4 separate regions of the Homo sapiens genome follow, and all the other regions are linked to region 2. The links are contacts of gene promoters, found by promoter capture Hi-C in blood cells and fetal thymus (Javierre and others, 2016). All regions are on one chromosome and are shown on one strand. The core of a region is centred on a gene start or on the middle of the fragment in contact, and the rest is flanking DNA. Distances in the headings are between cores, read along the strand shown.

The links. Contacts are between HindIII fragments. The CHiCAGO score rates a contact against its expected background, and 5 or more counts as called.
Region 1: a fragment that was not itself captured here is called in contact with the fragment with the promoter of OSTN in region 2 in 1 of 17 cell types (naive B cells); the score reaches 5.2 in naive B cells.
Region 3: a fragment that was not itself captured here is called in contact with the fragment with the promoter of OSTN in region 2 in 1 of 17 cell types (naive B cells); the score reaches 5.1 in naive B cells.
Region 4: a contact is called between a fragment that was not itself captured here and the fragment with the promoter of OSTN in region 2, in 2 of 17 cell types (total B cells and naive B cells). The highest score is 6.5, in total B cells.

Annotation. Positions count from the first base shown.
Region 1 is chr3:191,418,173-191,421,086 of GRCh38, forward strand. No RefSeq gene overlaps it. Among named protein-coding and RNA genes, the nearest start is that of PYDC2-AS1, 5.9 kb to the right of the region's middle. The HindIII fragment of the contact is 1,536 bases long and covers 623-2,158 here.
Region 2 is chr3:191,197,736-191,200,655 of GRCh38, forward strand. It overlaps OSTN (osteocrin), which reads left to right and starts at 1,506. Exons shown (of 5, transcript NM_198184.2): 1 at 1,506-1,572. The HindIII fragment of the contact is 2,884 bases long and covers 258-2,920 here.
Region 3 is chr3:191,397,347-191,400,593 of GRCh38, forward strand. It overlaps CCDC50 (coiled-coil domain containing 50), which reads left to right. Exons shown (of 12, transcript NM_178335.3): 12 at 1-1,313. Among named protein-coding and RNA genes, the nearest start is that of PYDC2-AS1, 27 kb to the right of the region's middle. The HindIII fragment of the contact is 5,466 bases long and covers 1-3,247 here.
Region 4 is chr3:191,381,036-191,384,080 of GRCh38, forward strand. It overlaps CCDC50 (coiled-coil domain containing 50), which reads left to right. Exons shown (of 12, transcript NM_178335.3): 10 at 1,711-1,790. Among named protein-coding and RNA genes, the nearest start is that of PYDC2-AS1, 43 kb to the right of the region's middle. The HindIII fragment of the contact is 3,482 bases long and covers 1-3,045 here.

The DNA of each region.
Region 1 (2,914 bases), core at 141-2,640, 220 kb after region 2:
CCCTACAGTGGCCTCCAAGTGTCCAAGTGAAAGGTAGAGTTGTGCACCTCACACTTTCAATCTAATGCTAGAAATGATTGAAGTTCAGTGAGGAACATATGTCAAAAGTTGAGACAGGCTGAAAGCTAGGCTTCTTGCACCAACCAGCCAAGTTGTGAATGTAAAGGTTTTGAAGGAAATTAAAAGTGCTACTCCAGTGAATACACGAGTGATAAAGTGAAAGAGCCTTATTGCTTATATGGAGAAAGTTTCAGTTCTCTGGATAGAAGATGAAACCAGCCACAAGTCTCCTTTAGCCAAGCCTACTCTAGAAGAAGGCCCTAATGCTCTTCAATTCTTTGAACTATGAGAGAGGTGAGAAAGCTGCAGAAGGAAAGTTTGAAGCTAGCAGAGGTTGGTTCATGAAGTTTGAGGAAAGAAGCCACCTCCATAAAAGCACAAGATGAAGCAGCAAGTGCTGATGTAGAAGCTGTAGCAAATTGTCCAGAAGATCTAGCAAAGATGATCGATGAAGGTGGCTATACCAAACAACAGGTTTTCAATGTGGATGAATCAGCCTTGTATTGGAAGAAGATGTCATCTAGGGCTGTCAAAGCTAGAGTGAAGTTAATGCCTGGCTTAAAGCTTCAAAGGACAGGCTGACTCTCTTTTTAGAAGCTAATGCAGCTGGTGATTTTCAGTTGAAGTCAGTGCTCACCCTTCCAAAAGTCTGAGAATCCTTAAGACTTCTGCTTAATTTACTCTATCTGTGCTCTATGAATGGAAAAATGTAACGTGGATGACAGCACATCTACTTACAGCATGGTTTGCTGAATATTTTAAGCCCACTGTTGAGACCAACTGCTCAGAAAAAAAAATTCCTTTTAAAATATTATTGCTCATTGATGATGCACCTAGTCACCCTAGAGCTTTGATAGAGATATACAAGGATATTAATGTTGTTTTCATGCCTGCTAACATAACATCCATTCTACAGCCCGTAGACCAAGGAATAATTTGAACTTTCAAGTCTGATTATTTAAAAATTTCACATTGTGAGGCCATAGCTGCCATAGATTGTCATTCCTCTGTTGGATCTGGGCAAAGTAAATTGAAAAACTTCTGGAAGGGATTCAACATTTGCGATGCCATTAAAAGCATTCATGATTCATGGGAAGAGGTTAAAATATCAACATTAACAGGAATTCAGAAGAAGTTGATTCTAATCCTCATGAATGACTTGGAGAGGTTCAAGACTCCTGTGGAGAAAATAAATGCAAATGTGATTGAAATAGCAAGATAACAATAATTGGGATGGTGCCTGAATACGTGACTTAATTGTTGCAATCTGATGATCAAACTTGAGTGGATAAGAAGTTGCTTCTTCTGGATGAGCAAAGAAAGTGGTTTCTTAAGATGGAATCTACTCCTGGTGAAGATGCTGTGAACATTGTTAAAATGAAAACAAAATATTTAAAACATTATATAAACTTAGCAGGTAAAGCAACAGCATGGTTTGAGAGCACTGACTCCAATTTTTAAAGTTATATTGTGGATGAAACTCTATCAAATAACATCCCATGCTACAGAGAAATCTTTCATGAAAATAAGTCAGTTGATGCAGCAAATTTCATTGTTGTCTAATTTTAAGAAATTGCCACAGCCACCCCAACCTTTTAGCAACCACCACCCTGATCTGTCAGCAGCCATCAACATCAAGGCAAGACCATCCATCTGCAAAAAGTTTGCAATGGTCTGAAGGATCTTTAGCAGTTTTTAGCAATAAAATATTTTTAAATTAAGGTATAATGCTATTGCACACTTAAACTATGTTAGAGTGTAAACACAACTTTTATGTGCACTGGGAAACCGGAATATTTGTGATATTTGTTTTATTGCAGTGGTCTGGAACTCAATCTGCAATCTCTCAGTGGTATGCCTGTGCATCATATTAGAGTATACATAGGTCATATATAATATGAAGATGAGGGAAAAGAGAATGCAGATGCACATAGGATGTGCTAGTAGAAAGTGAATGGAATTTCTATTTTTGATTTCTTTTTTTCCTTCTGTGTAGTAGAAGGGAATTTCCTGTGTTGAGAACGAGGAGGCAAGGAAGTTTGAGGAACGTGAAATATGACGACAAGTTATGTTCTACAATAGAACAGTGAGATTTAGAAGCTTGTGGAGAATGGTGACAGTTTAGAAGAAGAGCTGAGCTAAATGATAGAGGGGACTGACTAGGAATTGCTGAGCACTGTAGATTGAGAAAACAGCTGTGATTGGACTGTGCTCATTTATTGTGGCATCAATCTTCATGGTTGCTTGGTTTCAGCAGCCACATCGGCAACCCATATGTAGAAGCAGAAGAGGTGAATGGTTGAGAGTGATGCATTGTTGGGGTTCAGATGGGCATGTGTAACAGGGAGGCCTAGAGCCAGAGGAGAGAAAGAGGTTAAGGTAAAGCACTATGAGATCTTTGGGTGAGGCCAGGGGGGCAAGAAGTAACATTCTTGGAGAGTAGGGAAAAGTTTTCCATCAGATCACCACAAGATCAGAGTTCACGGGTCATGAAATAAGGGGATTAGTGTAAAGGATGAATTGTTATAGTCAGAAAGAAAATATTTTAGATATGGTATAGGTCTTGAGCCCATATAGTAAATAACTGAAGTGGAGTGCAAAGAGAGGCAACTATGGTTGAGAACACAAAGACCCATAATCCTACGCTGTTGGAAGTATCATTTTTATGGGCAGTGAGTCCCAGGACATGAAAAGAGGAATTATCATGGAAGCTTGTATTAATATCAAAGAAAACAGATCGGGGAAGGGCAACAATTTCATGATGCTGATCTCCAAGTTAATCCTTGGGTAATCAGGAATTTGTGTAAATTTATAGGCATAGGATTTGGCAATGCTGCTAGGACAAAATGAGAAT
Region 2 (2,920 bases), core at 256-2,755:
CTGGAATAAATCAGCCACAGATATCACTTGTCGGCATGCTAAGAGCGGCATTTCAAATAAGGGTAGAAGGTATGCCAATAATATTGGCTTCTGGTAGCATTATGATGCATCCATTAATTCTATATTGAGAGTTTTCCATCATGTGGATTCAAGCTAACATAATTGTTTTATGGCAGTAATGTCTAAACAAGGGTCCACAATTAGGCTGTATTTTTATCTTGATTTGTGAACTGTCTCTGCCAACTACTCAAATTTCAAGCTTGTTGAGACATATGTTATCCCTGGAAACCCATCATAAAAATGAAGCATTTTACTGTCCCACTAATTCTGTGTGCTCTGGTCAGTTTCCCCATCTAGATCCAAATTAACCATGTAATTGTCCTTATACTAGTGACTAGTATTTTAAATGGCCTTTTTAGGGAAACCAAAAAGAATAAATTTATTGCTTTTTGTGCAAAAATATAATCTGGTTTGGATTCTCTTTTCTAGCTTTTAAAGCAGTGAGATAGAATGCAGTCGTGGGAAAAGAACTGGATATGGAATTAGGAAGATCTGCATTTGAAATCCAGCTCTGCGACTACTTCTTACGTGTGTGATCTCATAAAGTCACTTAATTTATCTGAGCCTTGGCCTCTTTACCTGTCAGATGGGGACCCTCTGGTGAATCAAATGAGCCATTAACGATCTAATAACATAACATGTTACCTTTATAACTTAATAATTCATTTAAAAAATAATTTGTGTATGTAAGGATGCAAATATAATTAGTAGGAGATAAGAATGAAAGAAAACCTTCAGCCAAAGGCAGAAATATTTTGGTTAAAAAGAAATCAAAGTACTGAAGAACAAGAGCAAGACAAAAATGATTACAACGTCTTCATTTATAGCTCACATGTCACAGCTCAGTATTTATAGGTTTGTTAGTGACAGCCTTCCCAGTATAGCAATGTTAATTACGAAGTAGCTGTCATTGTGTTTCACTGACACAGCACTGTGCACCTGACGGAGGCTGAAAGTACTCATTATTTCCATAGCTGATCATTTAAAGGTCCAAAAATTACACCAATAAATCCGTTTGTGTCTGATTACAATCTCTCTATATCGTACATTGAAATTCCCTGGTGACTTTTTAACAAATCTTAGTGCATTTTATTTCCCAAATATGATTTGTAATAATCAGAGCTTGACTAAAACCTCAGGAAGAGGTGATGGGTGTGAAGCTGAACACAATACTAAATCTATATTCAAATTTTCCAGAGCCTATACTTCCATCGTTATTTAAATGCCATGATCAAAGCAATAGATAGACTAAATATGGAGGGAAAGGAGGGAGGGAGAAACTGAAGAAGGAAGGGAGAGGGAGGGAGAGAAAGAGATCGAAGAGAGGCTTGGGAAAATGTTCAGTGGAAAATCTGTAGAAATGATGTAAGAGAAAGCAAAGGCAGGGATTGGAGTAAGGGGTGTATAACTGAGACTATAAAAACTCAGAGAGAAAACTCACCACCAGGGCTGAGTTTTGGAGAAACTGCAGAGACAGTACTCTAAAGTTAGAATCTCCTGATCTTTCACGAGGTAAGTTATATGTAAAAATTGATAAAGATTTAATGCTTCTTTTAACTATTATTTTTACTTTCACAGACTCTTTAAATGTTTTGATTATATCTTGATTTTGTTAAAATTAGAGTGGTAATATTTCCCTCTCTAAAATGAGTAGAAAATCAAAGATATTTTTGTAATGCAAACTTAAGGTAGAACTAATTGCTTATTCAGATATTTCATATTTATAAGATTGCTTTTCTCTTCCATTTCAAAACAAACAGAAAGTGAATGCAAAATAATAATTCTATACATATATATGTTATTAGCGTTATTTTGCTTTCCTCAAAATTGTGTAATATTAGAAAAATGTTTAATATAAAAGAGTGGTCTAAACAACCTAGGTAAAAAAGAAAGGTTTTTTCCTCATTATTTCTATCAAAACTGGAGCTTAAGAAACATCCCTAAACTAATGAAATTCTATCTCTTATGTTCTTAAAACCTAATGCATCTTCTGTTTTTCTCCTTATATGTCAAATATGCAAATATGATATTAATAACATAGTTGGAGTAGACTTAGAGTATGCCTGTTCTTCAGTATTTGTAGTGCTCTTGCTATTCAATGATTGAATTGAGAGTTAATCTGAAACATACATTTGAGCTCTGTTGGAGAAGAAATTTAAAATTTTATTTCAGGTTTAGTGTGCACTCAGTGAATTCAGTTCTAACAATTCAAATGTTGTTTCTTTGAATAACAGACTCTATAGGTTTAGGAATGTGATTATTATTTGTTTATGAGTTTTCCTTCTAAAAATTTAACATTTTTGAGAATGAATTATGGTAATTTTAATGCCTATATAAGTTATAGAATTGATAGTGTTATACCAAAAACACCAGGGACATTCTGTGTTTTCTCTTACTTTGGTACTACTCTTCAGCACGCTTACAGAACTTTTCTAAGGAGCACTTTCTGTAGATAACAGTTCAGGTCTCCTTCATGTCAGTGAATTTTACTATGGCTTCATTCAAAAATTATTCAGAGTGTTTAAGGTTGACATTTGCTTTCTCCCCCTTATTTCTCAGGATTTTTAACTGATTCTTATATACTGAATAATGAGCAGTAGAGAAGCAGATATCTTCAGTTGACTGGGCACGGGAACCTCAGGGCTATAATTTTAACTTCTTTTACAAATACTCTCAATGATTTGAACATTTGATTAATAAAATTAGATTAATTGAACTTGTCTCAAAAATAAAGAACTCGAAGTAAGAAATCCTAATATATCATTCTAGCTCTGCTATAATCCACCTATACAACTGCAGGCAAGCCTTAAGCACGAATTAAGGCTTGATAATATTGTATTTTGTCCTTGTGAAAAGGACA
Region 3 (3,247 bases), core at 479-2,978, 200 kb after region 2:
ATGGTCTCTAATTTCAGCTCTTGCTGTAAACTGCAAGCCAAATGCTCTTTCTCAGAAAGAGCTATATTTTTCTCTTCTTACAGGCAACCCAATATTTATTTCATAAAGTGTTATAAATATTGAGAAGATACACTGGGGAGATAGCATATAAAAATGATGCTCCAAAATGAGAATTCTATATGGGGCTTTCCCTAAGAAGAATCCATCCCAGCACATATTTTGAAAAGGTGCTGAATTAAAAAGTACAAGAGTTTGCTCATATAAATCAAGTTGCCCAGGAAACCTGAGGTGATGCTATCATTTGTCTCATAATTTAGAAACGTGATCTCTTGAGAGAGAGACTACGCATTGCCTGGGCACTTTCAGATTCCTTAGGAAGTGCCCCTTTGATATTTGGAATGTGGATATATTTATAAAACAAATGGATTGTTATTCCAAATCCACATGGATTTATAACCAAGCCCCAGAAGAATAGGCAGCTTTGAAATAGCTAGTTCGTGGAATTGAACAGAACCTTGATGGAATGCAGTTGCCTGTGTGAGGACAGAAAACAAAGAGGCTGCCTCAGACCACATGCCTATCTAGAGATTAAGTGAATTTGTGAGGGACATTTTGTGGATGCCTTAAAGATGACCAGTGGTGGGTTCTGATGGGAATATATACACTCATCTGGACTAGGCCAATGGAAGCAGTCTCTTTCAGTTCACCTCCGTACAGCACAAGTTGTTCCTGCTCATGACCTCATTGAGGAAAATGAGAATTGTGGTGCTGGTGACTTTCATGTGTCTTGGGAGGTTGAGGTGTTCAACATCGTTAAGGCACTCCCAAAACGCAAACCTCCTTTTTTAAATGCCAATTGTACATCTACATTAATTCATCTATGCAAACTTGTGTTTTCATGGTTTGTTTTTTACACTATATTTCTCATTAGGTTCTTTAAACATCAGGTTTAATATTGATATTATGAATAATTTTTAAACCAAAGTATTCTATAAGTCTGTGTGCTTTGTTTTCCTGGATGGTTTGACCAAGGTAAACATCAGTCTTGTCCTTCTCTCTTAATAAAGTCATCCATTTGTTAAGTCAGTGGTCTCTGTCTCATGTTTTTGTTTTGTTTCTTTACAGCATTCAAGGACAGGGAAACTTACGAGAGTCTTATTATAATTATTATTATTTACAAAATGACCCTAATAGGTCTGTTTAGTAACAGTGAAATTTTTTCTTACTCCATTTCCATACACTTTCTGTAAATATGTATAACATGATAATGATGCCTGGTGTATTGAAATCCTCAATAAATACTGCCAAGTGTGGATCAGTTGGAGAAGTAGCTTTGTTTTGTGTGTGGTGTTTCGTGGTTTGATTGATATATTTGGGAGGAAAAAAAACAGGTAAGTGGATGTTCACACAATAATTCCAGTGATTAAAGACCCCATGCACAACTCTGCACTATACCTGACACCTTGTGGACACTTCAATGTATTTTGAGAAATGGATATTAATAACTGATTTATTCAATATTTTACCTTCATAAGAATTTTTTTTTTCTTATTTGGTTTGATAGAATAGCCACAATGTAGGAAATGATTCTGCAAAAATTAGGTATCTTAAATATAATATTTTCAATGACTACTAAATTTATTTTTAAAGATGTCACTATTTAGCCACCCCTACAGTAGATTCTCTAGGCCTCAGATTCCTCTGTGGCAAATATAGCAGGAAATCTAAATGATTTCTGTAGTCTCTGCTAGATCCTGAGTAGTACCAGTGATGTGCAGGTGATACTGTTTTATTTAGTTGAAGATTAGTATGTTGATTTCAACCTTTGGTCTCTAAATAAATACTAAAGTTGCCAGTGGAAAAAGTTGATGCATCTAGAAGCCAACTAAAAAATTAAATATGCAAGTAAAACAGATCCCTTTAATCTGTGGTAAGAGGTACTCAAGGTGATAGGGTGGTTTATGGGGAATATGACTTGAGTCTGATTGTCAGGCTATGGCCATGTGGCCATGTGAAAAGGTAGCATACAAGAAAGTTCCTTCTTTTTTTTTTTTTTTTTTTTTTTTTGAGATAGAGTCTTGCTCTGTCGCCCAGGCTGGAGTGCAGTGGCGCGATCTCGGCTCACTGCAAGCTCCGCCTCCCGGGTTCACGCCATTCTCCTGCCTCAGCCTCCCAAGTAGCTGGGACTACAGGTGCCCACCACCATGCCTGGCTAATTTTTTTGTATTTTTAGTAGAGATGGGTTTTCACCGTGTTAGCCAGGATGATCTCGATGTCCTGACCTCATGATCCGCCTGCCTCGGCCTCCCAAAGTGCTGGGATTGCAGGCATGAGCCACCGCGCCTGGCCAGTTCCTTCTTACAACAGCTAAGAGACCACTATCTACCTCGCACACCTTCGAAATTTGGTGAAACCTTTAAGAGGGTTTTGGACTACTACAAATCCTAGAACCATGGTTTCAAGACAATTTTGCCCCCATTTCAAGGGCAGGAAGACCAATGCCCCTCCTCCATTGTGTTTGGGTATCATGCTTAAATGAACGAACATAAACTAAAGGCTGCTGCGAAATCAGTGTACTAAAGAAATCTACAGGAATGAGATACGGGGTCCTAGTCCAGGTTTTGCTATGAGCTTGTTTCAGGACCTTGGGACATCATTTATCCTGCTGTACCTCAGTTCACTTGCCTGAAGCACTACTTCAAGTATAACATTTGAGGATTCCTGCGGTCAACGGCTGCTGGTTTCTTTTAAGATGTTGCCAGGAAGAGAGCAGCTTTATTCACTGCTGGGTCCTGTAAAATCACAAAGACTTCCTAGGCATTCCATCATGAAAGACAACCATGATCTTTTGTTCTTTACTGCAGTATTTTGCTACTTCTGTCTCCACATCCAGTAGATTGTCATTAACTTGTTATGTGTTTTTCTAACCAATACCCATCTCTATGTTTTATTCCCAAGGCTGAAATTTGAGCCTCTTTCCTCAAATGGTCTTCGGATGTTCTTGTAAATTAACTCCACTAGTATGTCTTGCATACCATACTTCCAGGACACACCCACTTTTCTTATCGATTCCTCAGCCTAATGATGCAAATTTGGTTTTGATCATGTAGATCATAACATACCCTTAAGTATGCCTGCCACTTTAAAGTATTTTGTGTCATTACCTGATCTTTGCCATCACTAGCAGTGCTCTTTGTGCCTAATCTTTTTGAAACCTTTCCTGCTGACCTGTCCATCCCTCATTCCC
Region 4 (3,045 bases), core at 319-2,818, 180 kb after region 2:
TATATAAATTATCTGTATTGCATATGTGAATCTGATCTGTGAAGATTCCATCACCATGAAAAATCACTGAATTTTGGAACATATGTAAAAAGTTACTGCTAAGATTGAAAACTCATTCTGTTCCCTTTAAGACGGAGTGAAATGCAAGTGCTTCTGGTCATGAACAGTCTTAGTTTTCATATACAGTACTTTGATTATAGAAGAATATAGCATTTTCACATGCTTTCATATTTTCCACAATGAACTTCTCTTCCCGTCTCTACTTTCTTTGTGCTTACATTATCTTTCATCTCTATCATGTATCCGTTTCTCTTTCCTTTGATGTAACATGGTTTGTGGCAGACTGAAAGATACATACTTATCACCAACAATTATTATTTATGTCACAGTGCAAGACCTATCTAGCGTGAGTTTGGACGGTTATCTTTCCCCTCGTTGATCAGAAATTGTAGACAAAATAAGCAGTTACTGCAATTCATTTTGCTGCGGTAATTGTGAGTTCCAGCTTAGCAGACTTTATTCATCAGTGACAGCGCGTAAGACAACACTTTGGACCTCCATGGAAAGACAAAGACATTTTTCCTGATAGTAGTGTATAATGTAGAGAGGAAGACAAAGTGTAGACAGCTAACAAATAGAAGGTTAAGCTAGGTGGAAAAAGAGCAGAGGAATAGGGAGAGAATTCGTACAATACAGGGTTTTTAGGGAGGGAGTTTAGGCCCAGAAGAATGAAACCTAGGTTGTGTATTCCTTACACAGTTGGTGTTTAGCGCTGGTCTCTCTTGAACAAATTCCTCCATTGGGTTTCTGGTCCCACCTCACAGTCTCAGTAATGGTTGTGAGGAAAAAGGTGTAGAAACCCTGCTAATAGTATTGCTGTACTCTTTCCTGTTGCTCAGTTACCCACGAGTTAGTCTCAAAACAATGAATGTATTATTCTCATATTAATTATGTATATTTAGCTCTCTCTTAACTAACTCAGTAATTCAAGATTTTTTCTAATATACTGTTTTAGTCAAGGATTCCCAAATACTTTTGTTAAATAAATTAAGCCACAAATAATTACCCAGGAGTTTCTCAGATTCTTTGCTACCTTAACTAGGAAAGGGTAAGTATTTAAGGATTAGGAATCAAGCGTGTCAGAAGGCAATGGCCACATCTCTAGCAGGTATCATCATGACTTCTGTAATTTTTATTTTATAACTGGTACTGATACAGTTCCTCTCTTGGAAAAGTTGACTTGAATGTGCCTTAGTTTACTGGCTGGAAATCAGCCTAAGACATGTGTGCGGAAATAAGTTTGAGTGCACAAACCTGGATTCCGTAGACTCTGGGCGTGCACTGGTTCTTGGCAATTACTGTGTAGCTATTATGTTAATAATCAGTGGCCAAGCACACCCATCTAGGGAAGCATGTTCCTGTGTGTTCAGCCCATTCCTCTGGCTGCTCTAAGGCTTTCAGATGAGTGGGCTAAATTACACCTTCCATGTAAGCCCAAAGCCTACCTTTGCAGCTATAAATTTTCTACCTCTGGAGTGGCCATATATAAAAATATTTTATGTTCCTCAATTAAATATAATTAATCTGAAATTACTAAGGAAGAGCTTGGCATGATAAACATACGTTAAACTTAATCTTTCCCTTTGTTTGATGATTCTGGATTGTATGTGTGTGTTATTTTTGTTTGTTTGTTTGTATTTTTGTCCATAGCCAAAAACAGCTAAAGCAGCAAATTCCAAGTCAAAAGAGAGTGATGAACCTCACCATTCTAAGAATGAAAGGCCAGCACGGTAAGCTGACACCTGAAAAGAAAAATGAGGAAGTTGACTTTGGGGTGAATAAGGAGATTTCAGTTCCCTAAGAAGAGTGTATGTTTTTTGGAGAGGAGATCCAAAAATCTGCATTTGTAAGGTAGTGTCAAGACATTCAGGGTTATTTTTAGAACTTTATTTCCACTCTTAAATTGAGTTGTGTACATCAAATCAGAATTTTACAATAGTTGGGGTGGATAAGGAAGAATGTACTTTTTGTTAGGACTGATTCTTACCTCTGCATTCACTGAATTTATGCTTTCAGCTTGGGGAATGAGAGTGATTTTTTTTCCTAAATAAAATTTCGAGTTTTAAATATTTACCGGGTTTCATAGCCACACTGATGTGTGCATGCCATTTGCACATGCTCAAACTCATTTCTTTCTGAGTCTCAGTGTCCTTGACAAAATCTTGAATCCTTGCAGACTGTCTAAATCCCACTCAACAAATAGCTGTGGCTATGGTGTACATACTTTCTGATTTATCTCAAACAGTCGTGCATAATAGTTATGGAGCAGCTGCTGTCTTTCTGCCTCAAGTTGTCAACATTTAAGTCTCTGGGGAAGTAACCTCTTTTTTTTTTTAATTGCTTTTTGTTGCCTTTCGAAAGAAAACATGATTGGAATGTGAAGAAAAAGATACTAAAAACAAGACAAAAAAGTAACACTAAGTTTAAAATTTTGAAAACTCTGAATTATTCAAATTTGAATTTTATTCTTATTTGTTAATTCTTGAAACATAACGCTTATTTCATTGAATAATTGACACTGTTGTTGCTACTCATGCCCACACTGAAGCTCCTAGACTTGTTTCCTTCAAGTGAATGTATTTAGTGTCCTTAAAAAGTAATCCTCTATTTTAAAACTCATTTGCTTTCAGAAGATAATCTTTCAGAAAATTACATTGGGTTTGTATTGCTCTGAGAAGAATAGTGGCATATTCTGTCTAGTTATATAAAATCTTTCTGTTGTAGCTTTTGGTTAAGCACATGCCAAACATTTTCTTAGAACTCTATAGGTTAGTACATTCCCAAAGTATCCAAGTAAAAGAAGCAGCAGCTAATCTGTTCTTAGTAAGTAAATACATCTGGATTATTATCCTTTTTTTAGTCAAATGAATTTAAATCATCTTTAGGCTTAATTCTGCAGTCTTCAGATCCTTGGCCTCTTTAGAATACTAATACCATTGACAGCATATATGATGGAACAGTACTGGATGATTTCTTAAGAAAGTT